2 separate regions of the Homo sapiens genome follow, and region 1 is linked to region 2. Evidence: promoter capture Hi-C in human tissues and cell types (Jung and others, 2019). All regions are on one chromosome and are shown on one strand. Each heading gives the region's core, a stretch centred on a gene start or on the middle of the fragment in contact. The rest is flanking DNA. Distances are from core to core; before and after follow the strand shown. Region 1 has its middle 150 kb from the start of JPH1. Region 2 holds the start of JPH1 (junctophilin 1).

Region 1 (7,200 bases), core at 161-2,660, 160 kb before region 2:
GGCTAACAGGGCAGAGAGGCTTTTTGATGTCCAGTGTGGGCTGGTAAGTAGGGGAGGAGTAGAGGCCCTAAGGAGATCCTGCAGGGACCCTCTGAGCATTCCATGGAAAGTTATGGCAATAGACAGGAAGAAGGTGCAATGGTCCAAAACTATTGCTTTGCTACAAGAAAATATTACATTTGTTCTTCCTTTCCAATTATTGGAAACTGTAGAGGTACAAGTAGAAGATTTTAAAATAAGACAACCAATTATACAGTGGAAGACGAGACATTAAAAAATAAGCTGGATGCAGTGGCTCATGCCTGTAATCCCAGCACTTTGGAAGGTGGAGGCAGGAGGATCACTTGAAGCCAGGAGTTTGAGATCAGCCTGGCCAATAAAGGGGGACCCTGTCTTTACGTAAAATATATTATGCAAGCATGATGGTGTGTGTCTATAGTCCTGGCTAGTAGGAGACTGAGGTGGGAGGATCACTTGAGCCTGGGAGGTTGAGGCTGCAGTGAGCCATGATACACACTACTGCATTCCAGTCTGGGTGACAGAGCAAGATCCTGAAGAAGATGCCCCAAGAAGATGCATTAATTCTTCTGCCTTGTGCATGAGGTAGAGGACAGACATGAATGGGAAACCTGGGGAATTTGGGACTTCCTGTGAAAATTTGAGAATTCCTGTGGCTTTTCTAATTGTTATTACTAAACTTTTATAATGTTTATTTTCCAAAACCCTTGGTAAGGTTATTGGTGGATATTTTAGCTATTCTTAAGGTGATTCAGAGGAGGTAGTGGTGAGAATCAACATATCCCATGATACCAGTTATCTGGAGAATGCAGGTAAACTGAAATTGACACAGTTCTTTATGAAATAAACAGAGATTTATGTATTCATTTGTCTTTGACACAGAGAAGAACTTAGAATGCTTCTGGTGAGTGCCACATTAACGGTCCTGTCACAGCCTTAATCTCTCTGTGCTTTGGATTCCTGTTTAAGAAATGTCCTGGTATTTTTTTATATAAAAATGTAAGAGTGAGTCTCTACAAGCACCTGATGTTGCTTAGAAGAAGGAAAATACTTTTACTTGAGGCTTCTATAAGTAACACGAGAAGACTTTGTAAATTCTAAATACAAATGTAAAAGCATTTGGCTTTAAACATTTCATTGGCATGACTTTTCTTTTTATGTGTCATAGCTTGCTTATTACCGTAGATGTGACATCTTACCTAGGCCCTGCTTTTAGGCTCCACGTAAGGATAGTCACAATTGTCCTCCTCCTCCACATTTTTCTCTTGAATAATGTCTTCACTCTCCCAAAATATACATGACAACACGTGGCTAGCAACTCCTCAGTGAGCTACAGGAGCCCCATTCTAGCCTTATTCCTTTACATGGCCAAAGCTTTCTTGGAGGATGATTACCTATAGTTTAATATATTGCCTTTTACTTGAGTTTATGGGCACAGAAACGCATGATACACCAGCCTTCCCTTCTCCTCGCTGTTTTCCTTTTAGGGGAGTTAGCAGAATATTGCATGTTGCCAGAAGAGACCTCCCATGGTGCAGTCTCCTTGTTCACAGCACGGAAGCTGCCAGAATAGGAAACAGAGTGGGAAGACGGAGCAGTGGAGCGAGGGTGGCCCAGGACACGCGAGGGGCCCGCCATAGCCATCCAGCCTGGTCCTGAGACCTGAGTAAGTGGTGCTCCAGAAAAGAAACTGGGCATTTTAGTTACCTGTTAGCCCTTTCATTTGTGCAGGTGATGTGTTCTTAGTCCCATTTTGATTAATAATTAACATTCGCTCAGTTTACAAAACACTTTTCCTTGTGTTATTTTATTGGGCCTTCTCAACAACCTGGAATATATTTATCATCTTTTTACCGGATAGGGGAAGAGAACTGAGGTTCAAAGAAATTAATCCAAAGCCATGAAAGCCAGTAGGTGGGAAAAACAGAACTTGAATTTAGGTTTTCTGGTTCCAAATTCTATGTTTTTTCTATGAAAAACACCCTCTCCCTTACCCTGATGATTTCAAGTAAACTAAAATTTTAAGCCATGTTCAATTTCTAAGAAGAGATAAAAAATATTTTTTGAGCACACACTATGTGCCAGGCATTGCATTGTGTGGTTTTCCTACTTTATATCCTCGAGTCCCCACACAAACTCTATGAGTTATGCACCGTCATCCCCATTTTACAGATGAGGAGGTAAGTACCTTGACCGAAGTCACATGGCTTGTAAGTGGCAGAATTGGGATTTGGATGCCAGTCTTGTGCTCTGATGCTCTGCTCTTAATTACGGCATTATGTTGCCTCCCTAAGAGCTGGTTTAATCTCGATGACATTGAGAGTCGTCTTTGAAGCCAGTAAGTGAGAAATTGGAGGGAGAAGTCCCATAGGTGCCTGGAAAACACAGTAATGGATCCTTAAAGAACTCATGGCAGGCAGGGCTCTCTTGCTCACAGGCAACCTGATATGCTGATGCAGGAAAGTATGTGGTGTGTTGTCCTGGGGTGAAGCCCAGGGGCTTGGAAAGACTTCCAGCTTTTACCGTTTGTCCTTTTAAAGGCAATTAGAAGACAGAAAGGCTGCTTAGGAAACTATAAGCTCATGAGCTGATTTTAAAACATCCAAGGACAAGCTACCATGTCTGAAAGTAATTCAACACCTTTGGTTAGCGAATTCTTCTTGTAGTGGTAATGCTAGGGACAATGACACTTAGTGGTTTTTTTGTTTATTTTAGCATGTAAAAATTTAAGGTGCCATCTTGGATTATACCTTGAGTATGTGTGATTTTGAAAAAGTGAAGTTGCATCTTTTGCTCCAGATCTAGTCTCATTATTATAGCAACAAAGAACTCCAGCAGTAAGATATTTTCTTGCAGTCTCTTAGTAATGACACTTGCTTTGGGAAAGTTCTAGGGAGCCATAATTACAATGCACCTGCGGAAGAAAACATGATTTACTGTTTTGTTCACTAACTTGAAAATCTTGAGAAAGTGCGAATTTCCCATGAGTTGGCTCAGTCTGGCCTCTGCTTTTGTGGATTCCTGACATTGGTATGTTGTAACACACCTGTTTGATCAAAATTGGTGTTGCAGTTATGTTTTGGAGGGTAAAAGAAGGTAGGAGAAGCATTTTGCTTTAGCAAATTGTGAAATACAAATTCCTGTATGGAAGGTGAGTACATGATTATTGTGCAAGTCGGGATGCTTTTGGAAGTGAAAGAGGGCACTTTGCCTCATTATACCAGACAATACCCTAGATCACAACTGTCCCAGAGAAATGGGACATATGCTCACCCTGCTTTCCTGAGTCTTAGTTTGCAAGGAAGGGGTTTCTCTAAACCCAATGCCAGGTGTTGTCAATTATGTACACCCATCACCCTCCTTTCTTCTAGGATGAGCCATAGAGGTATCTAGGGATTATCTTGATATAGAAATGTCATGCACTGTTTTACTACTCTGATATCCTCTCCAGGCCATCCTGTCTTGGGCAGTTTACTTCCTTGCCTAAGAAATACCAATCACTCTGCCCCTCTTGCCTAAGAAGCAAGATGTGATGGATAGCAGGCTGCACTGGCTCCGCTAAGTCAGAAATCATGGGTTTGAACCTTGGTGCTGCTTCTTTCCCTCCGTGCAAACTTAGAGAATTTACTTTCTTTTCTTTGAAACGCAGTTCTCCATTCTGTGGAATGGGGTTGATGATTAATACCTATCCAGTCTATCTTTGTGGTTCATTGTAAGGGTCAGGGAGCAGAAGCGTGTGATAAACAGTAGAGCACTATCCAAATGTTGGCTCTTAATGAAGCACTGCTTTCACTGTTAACTAGCAGAGGAACACTGGGCAAGTTATGTCACCTTTCTAAGCCTTCCTTTTCCTTATCCATAGGAAGAGGAGCATATATCTGCTTCTCCAAGGGGCTGATTAAATATATAGAGCACCTGCTCTACACAAATGTGAATTAGCTTCTTTTTAAATTGGGCTTTTCCTGGAATTTTGTAACTGTTTCGTTATTTGGAATTTTGTTTGCTTTTCTCAACATGGTTGTCAGGGATTGATCTCTTGCTGTCTTAAATGTCCTCACTTCAGACAAAAGAACACCGGTAAGCGCCACTTGAGTGGCACCCAGGCAGGAGTGAAGATGCTGACTGGTGCCGAAGCTGGGAGGATTCAGGGGACAGGCTCAGGAGTGACAGACTGCAAGCCTGCCAAGAAACAGCACAGGGAGCTCCTTCCCTCACGCTGCTAAAAATACTGCTGGGAAAGTAATTTCTCTGGTCCTATTTTAGAAATCAGAGACAGATCCACCATATTCATGTTTGGATCCTGGTCAGCCTTCTGGTTTGAGTTTTAAATTTCAAGATATTTTTTTTTTGGTGGGGGGTAGGGCAGTTAAAACAGTCTGCAGAGTTTGAGAAGCAAAATTTGAAAACACTGTTAAGGAAGATATGTTTTGGGCATTATGTAATTACTAGCAATTATTATTATTATTTTGAGACAGAGTCTTGCTCTGTTGTCCAGGCTGGAGTGCAATGATGCCATCACACAACTCACTGTAGCCTCAACCTCCCAGGCTCAAGTGATCCTCCCACCTTGGCCTCCCCAGTAGTTGGGACTACAGGTACATACTACCTTGCCCAGTTAACTTTTTTATTTTTTGTAGTGATGGTGTCTCACTATGTTGCCTAGGCTGGTCTCAAGCTCCTGGGTTCAAGTGATCTTCCTTCCTCAGTTTCCCAAAGTGCCAGGATTACAGGTGTGAACCACCAGGCCTGGCCGCAATTTTTGAAAAGGCTTTATTAAAGACAATCAAAATGTCATGTGACAAAATCCTTCCAGCTGTTTATTTGCCCATGTCATTGATTTTATACACACACACACACACACACACACACACATAAATATTTACTTAAGGTAGATTTATATAAAGATATTTTCCTCTTTCTTTCCCATTCCTTAACTTTCTTTCCCTCTTTTTTTCCATCTTTCTCTTCTGAAAACTTCCTTCTGTCCATTTTTTTTCACTCCCTCTTTCTTTTCTTTCTCAGTGACAGTTTCATGCTGAGACAGAGGCCCTCCCGGTGTGTGGAAGTTTGTCTGTCTCTGCTGGAGCCTGTCTGCTCTGGCCTTTCACTGTGTACTTTGTTCACCCTCTTTCACAAACATTTACTGAGCAGCTATTAGTACAAAACACTGTATCTGGCCCTTGGAGAGGAGTGGGGAAAATACAAAGATGAATAGCACATGGTGTTTACTCTTAAAGAATCCTACAAAGTAGTGGAAGAGACATAAGTTCAAGATCAAAACAACAAGGGAATGAATGTGTGGGCTGGGGGTGGGAGGAGGAGTGGTATTTGTGTGTGGAAGCAGGCCAGTTGCCTAAAAGTCAATTTCCCAAAATCATTTCACCAAATGACCAATATACTGAAAGACCAATTGACTGAAAATCAATTTGCAATTGGCCCAGAGCTGCCAGGTGTTGCTATAGAAAGAATTCACCTGAGTTTCAACAGGGACAACCTCAGTATTAAAAGAGGGACCACTTTTAAGTTCCGGCCCAGGGATATATCTATGGTTGAGAATCCTCTTCGATTTGGCCACGGAGGAGCATTTTGTATACACAGTCACTGTAAGCAGAAGCATAGTTTGCTTAAATAATAAAGATTATTATATTTTTTATTAAAAAAATTTTTTTTCTGAGATGATTTCACTCTTGTCACCCAGGCTGGAGTGCAATGGCATGATCTTGGCTCACTGCAACCTCCGCCTCCCAGGTTCAAGCGATTCTCCTGCCTCAACCTCCCAAGTAGCTGGAATTATAGGCACCCACCACCACACCTGGCTAATCTTATTCCTGATGTGTCAGTTGTGGTTCCAGCAGAAAATAGATGGCACGTGAAAACTTGGAAATGTGAGGATTGTCTAGAGAGGGGGCTTTTTTCAAGGCCCAGGTAGGATTCAGAAAACCAACAAGGGATAGCGCAGTCTCTGGAGGTAGCAAAAGCAGGAAGCCATTGCCTCTGGAATCTAGGCAGGGGGTGGCTCTACTGACAGGGCCATTGTACTGGAGGAGGGGTCCACAGGTGCCTTTCATTGGCCAAGCCCAGCTGTAAACTAAGGAAAATGATTTCCTGTCACAAGAAAGTAGATCTTGAGGACATTCACTATATCAGGTTATGATTAAATAACATGGCACCAAATTACCATTGTGTTTCCTCAAGGAAGAATATGGTTGTCATTTCAGACTTAAAAAATCAGCATCCTTCCAAATTTATCAATTAAGGACTGAAATGTGTAACAGGGTTCCCAAGAAAATTCTTTTTAGCAAGAGGAATTGTCAGTAATTCACTGTGCAGGTGGATACAATAAACAATTTTGGAGTAGATCTTTGTTCAGAAAAGTCATTTGCATGACACTCCCTCGTGTGCATAATGTAAGGTTTTTGTTTGTTTGTTTGTTTGTTTTTTATTTGAGACAGAGTCTTGCTCTGTCATCCAGGCTGGACTGCAGTGGCACGATCTCGGCTCACTACAAGCTCCGCCTCCCGGGTTCACACCATTCTCCTGCCTCAGCCTCCCGAGTAGCTGGGACTACAGGTGCCCACCACCACACCCGGCTAATTTTTTGCATTTTTTTAGTAGAGACAGGGTTTCACCGTATTAGCCAGGATGGTCTCAATCTCCGGACCTTGTGATCTGCCCGCCTCAGCCTCCCAACGTGCTGGGATTACAGGCATGAGCCACCATGCCCGGCCAATGTAAGGTATTTTTAAAGGTATTCTTAAAGGGCGTAACAGAATCTTCTGTTTGGCTGAACAAGGCAACTCTGCTCTTGGAGTATGGGGGATTAGGTACCCTGGACTTGTCACAAAGTCCAAAGGGTTTTGGGAGAAGGCTGGGGCATAACACGTGGCCAAGGTTAGAAGCCTACTGGCTTGATTCCGGCTCTGGAGAAAGGTACTTTAGCTGTGAGTCTGAAGCAAGAGAGCTGGCCTCCAGGGTTATATAGGGATCTGGCAAAGAGTAAAACACCGTGGTTGCTAGACTGTGCAGGACCAGTGTTCAACAGTGACACCATGTGGTGGGGATGAAGCTTGCTGCTAGTGGCAACTACGTTTCTCACTTTTCATCTGGACTCATTTCCTTTGGATTAAGTAAATTTGTGGGGTTCTTGGATACTCGAAGAAAGTGTCCTCAAGAGGGCGATCA
Region 2 (7,404 bases), core at 4,121-6,620:
TCTTTTTTTAGTGTAGACAAAACTGTTGAATATTCAGGATTATCATTTGAATTTGGGTGAACCTTTTTGAGCTAAGAGAGAATCGACAACCACAATATATATTATGAATACAGTGAATTATGAAAAAAATGAGTAATTTAACATTTTTGTGCTTCTAAGTGAAAAGGCCAAAGCTTTGTGCCGTATCATTTGCCAAATCTCTGCATCCTCTATGGATTTCCCTAGCTGCCACTGCATTGTGAATCACACCACAGACTAGAAGCACCCTGAGGGCAGGAATTACTTCGTATGAGAACACAAAATTCTCATGTGTCCTCTGGTCTGTGTTTGTGGATGGAGGGTGTTTGATGACTATGTTGACGGTAAAAAGCTATGGTGGCTAAAAAGTATACCCTTTACTCTTGGAGAAACTGATGTAAGGCCAGATGAAATCTTCTACTGTTACCATTTTGGACTTCATCTCAGAGGAAAGGTATATTTGACACTATCTATTAAAATGTTGATACCAGATGACTCTGTCAACAAATATTATGCTTTTTCATGATAGTCTGTCATCTAGAGCATTTGTAGTGAATTTTTTGCTACTAAATAAATAAGCAAAGACATTAAAAAATAACCTGGTACAGGTTTTAAAATAATCTTAGGAGGAAATGAATGTTAAATTAGGGAATTTAGAAGTTTCTTTTCAAAATCAATTTCCTTTAATTAAGGGTAAATTTTAATTTACAGTATCCCTCAAAAGAAGCTATCTGGAAAATTTAAAATGTAATTACTTCTGTGTTATTCATAACAATTCACAATGTCATAGAAAACAAATAATGATTAGTCTGTCTTGACCTCTTTCCATTTCTGATTATATAGATCTACCCTGCAGTCACTTTGCATTTTATATTTCCATGCACAGATTTCCATTGCATGGCACATATTCATTTTCAAAACACCGGGCAAAAATGCTAGTGGTTTTATATAACTGTGTTAACAATGGCTGGTTATTTCATTGCACTTAAAAGTTAAAACCATAATGACTCCCAAGTCAACGGTTTTGACCAATTTCAAGACTACCTTCTCTTTTTGTTCATTCTGGCATATGTGACACAGGCAATAGTAGATATACAATGAAATACTAAGTGGGTCTGGTACTGTAAATGTCATATTCTGGGTAGATGTGAAGTCTTAACTTGACATCTATGAACTTCTGAGGAGGTGGGTGGCCCACAGTTTTCTCTGAAAGATTAACTCAAGAGGATAAGATAGTCATGTAAAACATTTCAGGCTAAGAAGCTTCCTATTGAATACTGGCCATCTCCAAATACCGCCATCTTAACAGGAATGGGAATGGAATTATTAGGAAATTTTGACTTTGACTTTTCCTTTGCCTATACAGGTAAAATTTAAATTCTAGGATGAAAGTTTCACAATCTGGCTTGAAGATACTAAAATAAACCACCTTATTTTTAATATTTTGTTGGTTAAAAGAATGCTATAATCACATCCTCCTAACTTTTGTCTATAGTGACAAGTTAATTTTGCTAGAACAATTTGCAGAGATGCTGTTTGATATCAATAAGTATCTGCACTTTTAAAACACAGCCATACCATCTTGGTAAATGTTTAACACTGATGGAAAATTAACAGCTAGTTTCTTTAAACTGTTATCTCCAAAAATAAGACTAGTACAGTATTTAGAATTTCCAAAAAAGTATGGCTTGAAAATCCAAGCTGTTTAAGGCAACAGCAATAATTAGAAAGTTTAAGTCTCTGCTTAACTGTCAAATAGGGAAGGGGGGGACAAGAGCATTGGCCACATTCCTCTCCTATTTTGTTAAATCACAGTATATGAAAGAATTCCTCCACAGAATTGCTAGAAACCAATTTGCAGTCAAACTGTTAGCAGTTCATCTGAAATTTAAAATAGGTTTAGTTTAGTCAATGAACCTAGAATAAGAAAGGGCCTATTTCTTTATGAAGCAGGTGGGTTCCAACTTCTCCCTGCTGCTCAAATAAAGTTCTAATTAGTTCCTCTTGATTCCTAAAATGTAGATGCATATTTCACAAGTATAAAAATTACTTTTACCAGTTTTAAACTGTGTTCATTTGGGAGCTAATTTTTTAGATTTAGTCATTTTAACTACACAATCTTGTAGTGGAAGGCATCCAGTTTAGGAGTTTCAGTCAAATTTGCACTGCACTATGCCAAACTTCAGTTTATATGCTCCGAATGGGTATGTGCAAGTATGCATCTAGTTAACAAAACGTTGTGTTTTCCCAGATATTTTCAATAGTTTTATGACAAGTGAAAAAACAAAGTACAGATCAGAATTAGCACAAAAAATTCTGGGCACCTAGACTTGGATTTCATGAGTATGATACTAACTTATTGTTAATATTCAGGGGGTTTCTATTTCAGCAACATGTAATACACAAATCACTAATAAAATAAGTGATACGTCTCACATGGAATTACTGCTTCCTTCCTCCTCCAGTTTAATGTCACCACAAAAAAACTCGGAATCAGATTTTCCCTGAATCTGATACAGGGTGTACAGGGATGGACATGTGGCGATGGGGAGAGTGCAAACAAAAACAAGCTAACTCCTTAGTGAGAACAGCAGAAAACAAGCTAATTTTTTAGTGATATTCCTATTTTGGCCAAAACCTTTGTATGAAATAAGTTACAGCAATAAACTTGCTTTAGACTCCCTTTTTATGATTGAGAACTTTCTAATGAAATAGTTACATATGAGACAGTAGAAAATCTATTAGCATAGAGTAGACATTCAGTAGTGATTTTTAAGGTTTTTCTTCCTAACTGTAGCATATTAGATTTTTTTTTTTGGTAGAAGAAGAAAACCACAGTACCACCCAGGATGATGCCAAGTTTTAAGTTTTTTTTTAAGTTTATTTTAAAACTGAAGGCAGATTATTCATAAAATCATTCTGGAGACTTATTTGGGTTTCTACGACATGTACACAGACAGCCTCTACTGTGCTATATATATTTTGATTACTAGGTATAATGAATACTCTAAACCAAGAGAGTGTGTTTAATGAATAGTATCTTTAAAAGGAGACGATTTTTAACCTTCCAAAACTGAAGAGAACCATCCCTGGCCTTCTTAAAAGATTATAAAATAATGCACACATTTAAAACAATAAATTTTGCCTTCTACTTTTGAGCATGGAATTTAGTTATATAGTAGAGCTGGGGCCTCCAACAAAATCCAGTCACAAACTGACATATTTACAGCGCTGTCAACCAGGTACTTTATGCCCATTCAGAACATTTAAGGGTCCCAATTAACTACTGTGAAACTCGGGACTCAGCCCCACATAAAACTATTAGAGAACGTTTTTTTCTTTTAATCCATGAGAACCATATGCTTAATTTATACTGTAGGATGAAAAGATGTCCTTTTTAGCAAGTTCTACCATTCTGCCATTTTGCATTTGAAACACGGCCCAAGTGTTCTGACTAAGTGAAGTGTACAAATTGTGTAAGCTTTTATATAAGCAATGGTATAAATGGGGTTGCAGTGGGCTGGAGAAACTTTTAATTGCATCCCTTTAATATCCTCCAACTCTGAGCTGCTTAATTCCAAAAAGTGATGTCGCCTCCTACAACCCTTTTCAACTAAATATGATTATGTTTATCAGGAAATGCACTTTGCTAAAGCATAAGCTATTCATGAATATCTTTCTCAGCGTATTACACAAGGAAATTCATCAGGTTTTGACACCTGTTTCAATAATGTATACTTTTCCTAATAAAAGAGGAACTTCTGTCCTGGTATATACACAATCTCTTTGGCAAATATTGTTAAATATTAAAATAAGGTGATCTTTGTTCACAGCCAGGAATACTGGCTTAGGTCACACATAATGCAAATTATTGTTTCAGTATTGCCATTCTCAGGAGTAGTAGCTGCTAACTTAGCAGCTATAGGAACACACCTGCTAATTGTATTCTTTAAAATGTAGACTTCATTACCCATTTCTAAAATATCTTCCTAGTAATTTGTCCAAGATCTCCAGGTCAGCAAAGACTGCTACTCTTTTAAGACCAATACTTTAAGAAACGGAATGAAAACTAGGAACTCACACACTCTGAACTCCACCTGCATCAGGTGGCCTTTCTGCTCCCATAACTAGGACGTTTCCAAATGCACCCCCAAATAAGGTACAATTCCCCAACATCCTAGTTACGGGGTTCTGGCTTCTATCTTTAGGCTACTGGAGGACCAGAAGCGAAATACGACTCCACGTGAAACCAATCCCGGGAGCGGTCAGCACGGACCGCCAACCTCACCCGCTCAGGGTGTTCGCTCTAACTCCACGGGAGTGGCGATTTCAAACCCGGCCGGGAGAGGGAGGGATCAGGAACGTAATGTGACGGGCTCAAGTGACAGCGTCCTCTCTCCAGCCCAACCCTCCCGGGCGGCGCTCCCTCCCGGTGGCAGCGCAGCGCTGGCGCCGGCCAGGTACATTCACGCCTAGCTCCCCTGAGTGTGGATACACGGCCCGCTCCAAGAACGGGGTCAGATCCAGCCCTCGCGCCCCAGTCCGGTCCCAGCGCCCTCTCTGGGAAAGGCGGGCGCGGGCGCGGGGGTGGGAGGCGCCCCCAGGTGTTTTGGCGGGTTTCCGGACACGTGCGCCCGGCGTCCTCCCCGCTTCCCCGCAGCCGGGGCAGAGCCCACCGCACCAGCTCGCGGAGCAGCCGAGCCGCCCGTTACGCCGCTCACCTCCGTCCCCGTAGGTCTCCACGCCGTACCCGTCTTGCAGCCCGTTACTCCAGGTACCCTCGTAGCGAGCGGGGGTGCACAGGCTCTGCCGGACCCCGTAGCGCCCCTTGAAACCATGTGACCACTCCCCCCGGTACATCCACTTGCCCTTCGTCTCCACCCCCAGCCCGTGCCGCTTGCCCTGCGCCCAGTAGCCCTGGTAGGTGTTGCCGCTGGGCCAGGTGTAGCCTCCGACCACCTCGAAGCCGTGCGACCAGGAGCCCGAGTACTCGCCCTGGCCCTTGGGCCCCGTGCAGATGCCATGCCCGTGCGCCTTGCCCTCCTCCCAGCCGCCGCAGTAGGTGCCGCCATCGTCGAAGTCGAACCTTCCGCCCGTCATTCGGGGGGCAGCCCCGGCGCGCTCCCCGCAGGGGCACGGACGCGGGCAGTGCTGGGCACGGCAGGGTGTAGCTCGGGGGTGGGGGCCCGGCGGGCGAGCTCACGACAGCGCCCTGGGCAGCTCGCGCTGCCGCTCGGCTCCAGTCCGACGCCGCCCCCGTCCTCCCTCCTCTTTTGCCGCCGCCACCGCCGCCTTCCTCCTCCTCCTCCTCCTCCTTCGCCGCCGCCGCCTGGGCCAGCGCCGCGCGCGAGAGGACAGCCCAGGTTCCCGAGCGGACCTTCAGCTGCTCCCGCCCGCCCACGTGAGCCGGGCACCGCCCCGCGCCCGCCCCTCGTCCCCTCCCCGGGCGCCGAGGCCCGGCCCCGCGGCGCTCCCGCCCCACCGGGCCCTGCCCCCAGCCCCGGGAGCCGCCGCTTCCTCGGCAGGCGGGCGCGCGCGGGGACCGGCTGGCGCGCATGTGTTCGCGCAGTGGGATGCCGGTGGGAGGGCGAGTGTACCCGGGGACGCACGAGAATCCCTGCCTGGAGATGAAGGCGCGGCTGCCTGTGTGGGGGCCGCTCGCGGGCGCCGGAGCCCCCGGTGTTTGTGTTTGGGGTTTTTCAAAGTGGTTAAGCTCCTGTGAGTGCGGCCACGTGTGTGTTGAGGGAAAACTCATTGTATGCGTGTTTGTCTGCATGGGGTTTGTAGTTGCATTGTTTTCGCATTCCAACTTGTGTACTGTTGCATTTGTCATGCTCAGCTGTCATCGTGAATTAATATCGCCTAGATATATGTATGCATGTGATGTAAATCTGCGGCAGCCTAGATATAATTGTGCAGAGTGTTCTTTTACACCTACCCGTTTCAAAGCACACGTGTTTGCATTTATTTAATGAAGACACTGAGGGTGAGCAGTACAGTTTGAAAAAGCACAGAATATATTGGTTAGTTTTTTATTAATAGTGATGAAGAGGATGTTTTCAATCGGCCTTTGCAGTGGTACAGGATATTCCTTTTACATTAGAGCCTGCCCCCTCTCGTGCCTCGTTTGTGCTTCTTAACAGCCTTAGAGATTCTTGAGCCTGGAGCTGTGTGCCCAACAGGTAGACGGCTCGGTCTGTGTACATTGTATAAGTGTCTGGAATGCACACCTCTCCACTGGTATCCACTGTTTAAGAAAGTAAATAGAGGTTTGCAAGGAGGAATATGGTAAGTAAAGCACTGCTCTAAACTTGCAAAGAAACTGTGACCTACAAAACCAGGGACAGATGTCAGCTGGTCTACTTTCTAGCTACAACACTGCTTTGTCGAATTCACTTTAGGCAACTCTTCTAAACTTTTAAACCTCCATTTCACCATCTTCTGAATGGGACTAACAAGATTTGCCTTTCTCTTTCTATATTCGGTAATAACTGAGTATATTGTGGCTGCAGTGCCAAACCAAAAATTAGAGATTTGGTAATAGGCAAGTTGGATCAGCATTGCCTCTGGTGAGAGAAAGCATTATTCTCCACCTCACCCTCAAAATACCCACGGGAGAAACTTCTCCCACTTTCACAGCCTAGGGTCTTAGTTTGGCCTCTCAAGGAAACTGATTTGGAGTGTATTCCTGCTATTTCTTAGGCTGAGAGGCCTTTGGGTGACTATGCGAGCATCAGAAGCTGCCAAAGGTTCTCTCACTAAGTATTTGATAATCAGATATAGATATAAGGACAGGTGTCAGGAAGACAGCCTGGGAAAAAGTAGACTAAACTGCACAGAAAAGGAACTGAAATTGACCTTGATTGCCTCTCTCTCAGGACGAGAGCCGACCTTTCCTACTTATCTGGCTGAAAGACTGAAAGAAAAATCTCAGTTTATGCAGAACCAAATCACCAAAGAGAATTAGAAGCCCTCATCCATGGCACTGCCCGCAGAGTTGCCAGGAATAGTGCTTACCCTAGTGGCCTGAAATAATTATGCATCTCTCGAAGCATCTTGTCCTGGACTGGGGATTGATTTAGGCCGCTGGGAAGATGAGGGCCAGGGCTTTGCGGCTGAGCCATAATTCCATTTCCCTGTTATGGGATACACCAGAATCAGGAGCTAATGTAGAAAGATGCATTCCCATATATTTTGAGGTTCTGTATGATATGAGAAAAAGTGTGGTTGCTCAAGCCAATATTTTGAATGGGGGAGTCTCTTTCTAAACTAGACTTCCTCATAGAGTAGTCTTTGTCCCTTTGCCTTTTTTTTTTTTTTGGATCCACCCAGTGTGTTAGGACCCATATATGTTCTTTAAGGGGATAAATTTTGGAAACCTTTATC

What was found. The method cuts DNA at HindIII sites, captures the fragments that hold promoters and counts their contacts. A contact is called where the count stands out against the background at its distance.
Region 1: a fragment that was not itself captured here is called in contact with the fragment with the promoter of JPH1 in region 2 in 1 of the 25 tissues and cell types used here (dorsolateral prefrontal cortex).

The regions. Positions count from the first base shown.
Region 1 is chr8:74,164,520-74,171,719 of GRCh38, forward strand. No RefSeq gene overlaps it. Among named protein-coding and RNA genes, the nearest start is that of JPH1, 150 kb to the right of the region's middle. The HindIII fragment of the contact is 5,655 bases long and covers 1-4,238 here.
Region 2 is chr8:74,316,170-74,323,573 of GRCh38, forward strand. JPH1 (junctophilin 1) reads right to left here and starts at 5,371. Exons shown (of 6, transcript NM_020647.4): 1 at 4,740-5,371. The coding sequence starts at 5,118. RefSeq lists an enhancer at 4,438-5,328 and a silencer at 5,422-5,521. The HindIII fragment of the contact is 7,240 bases long and covers 2,391-7,404 here.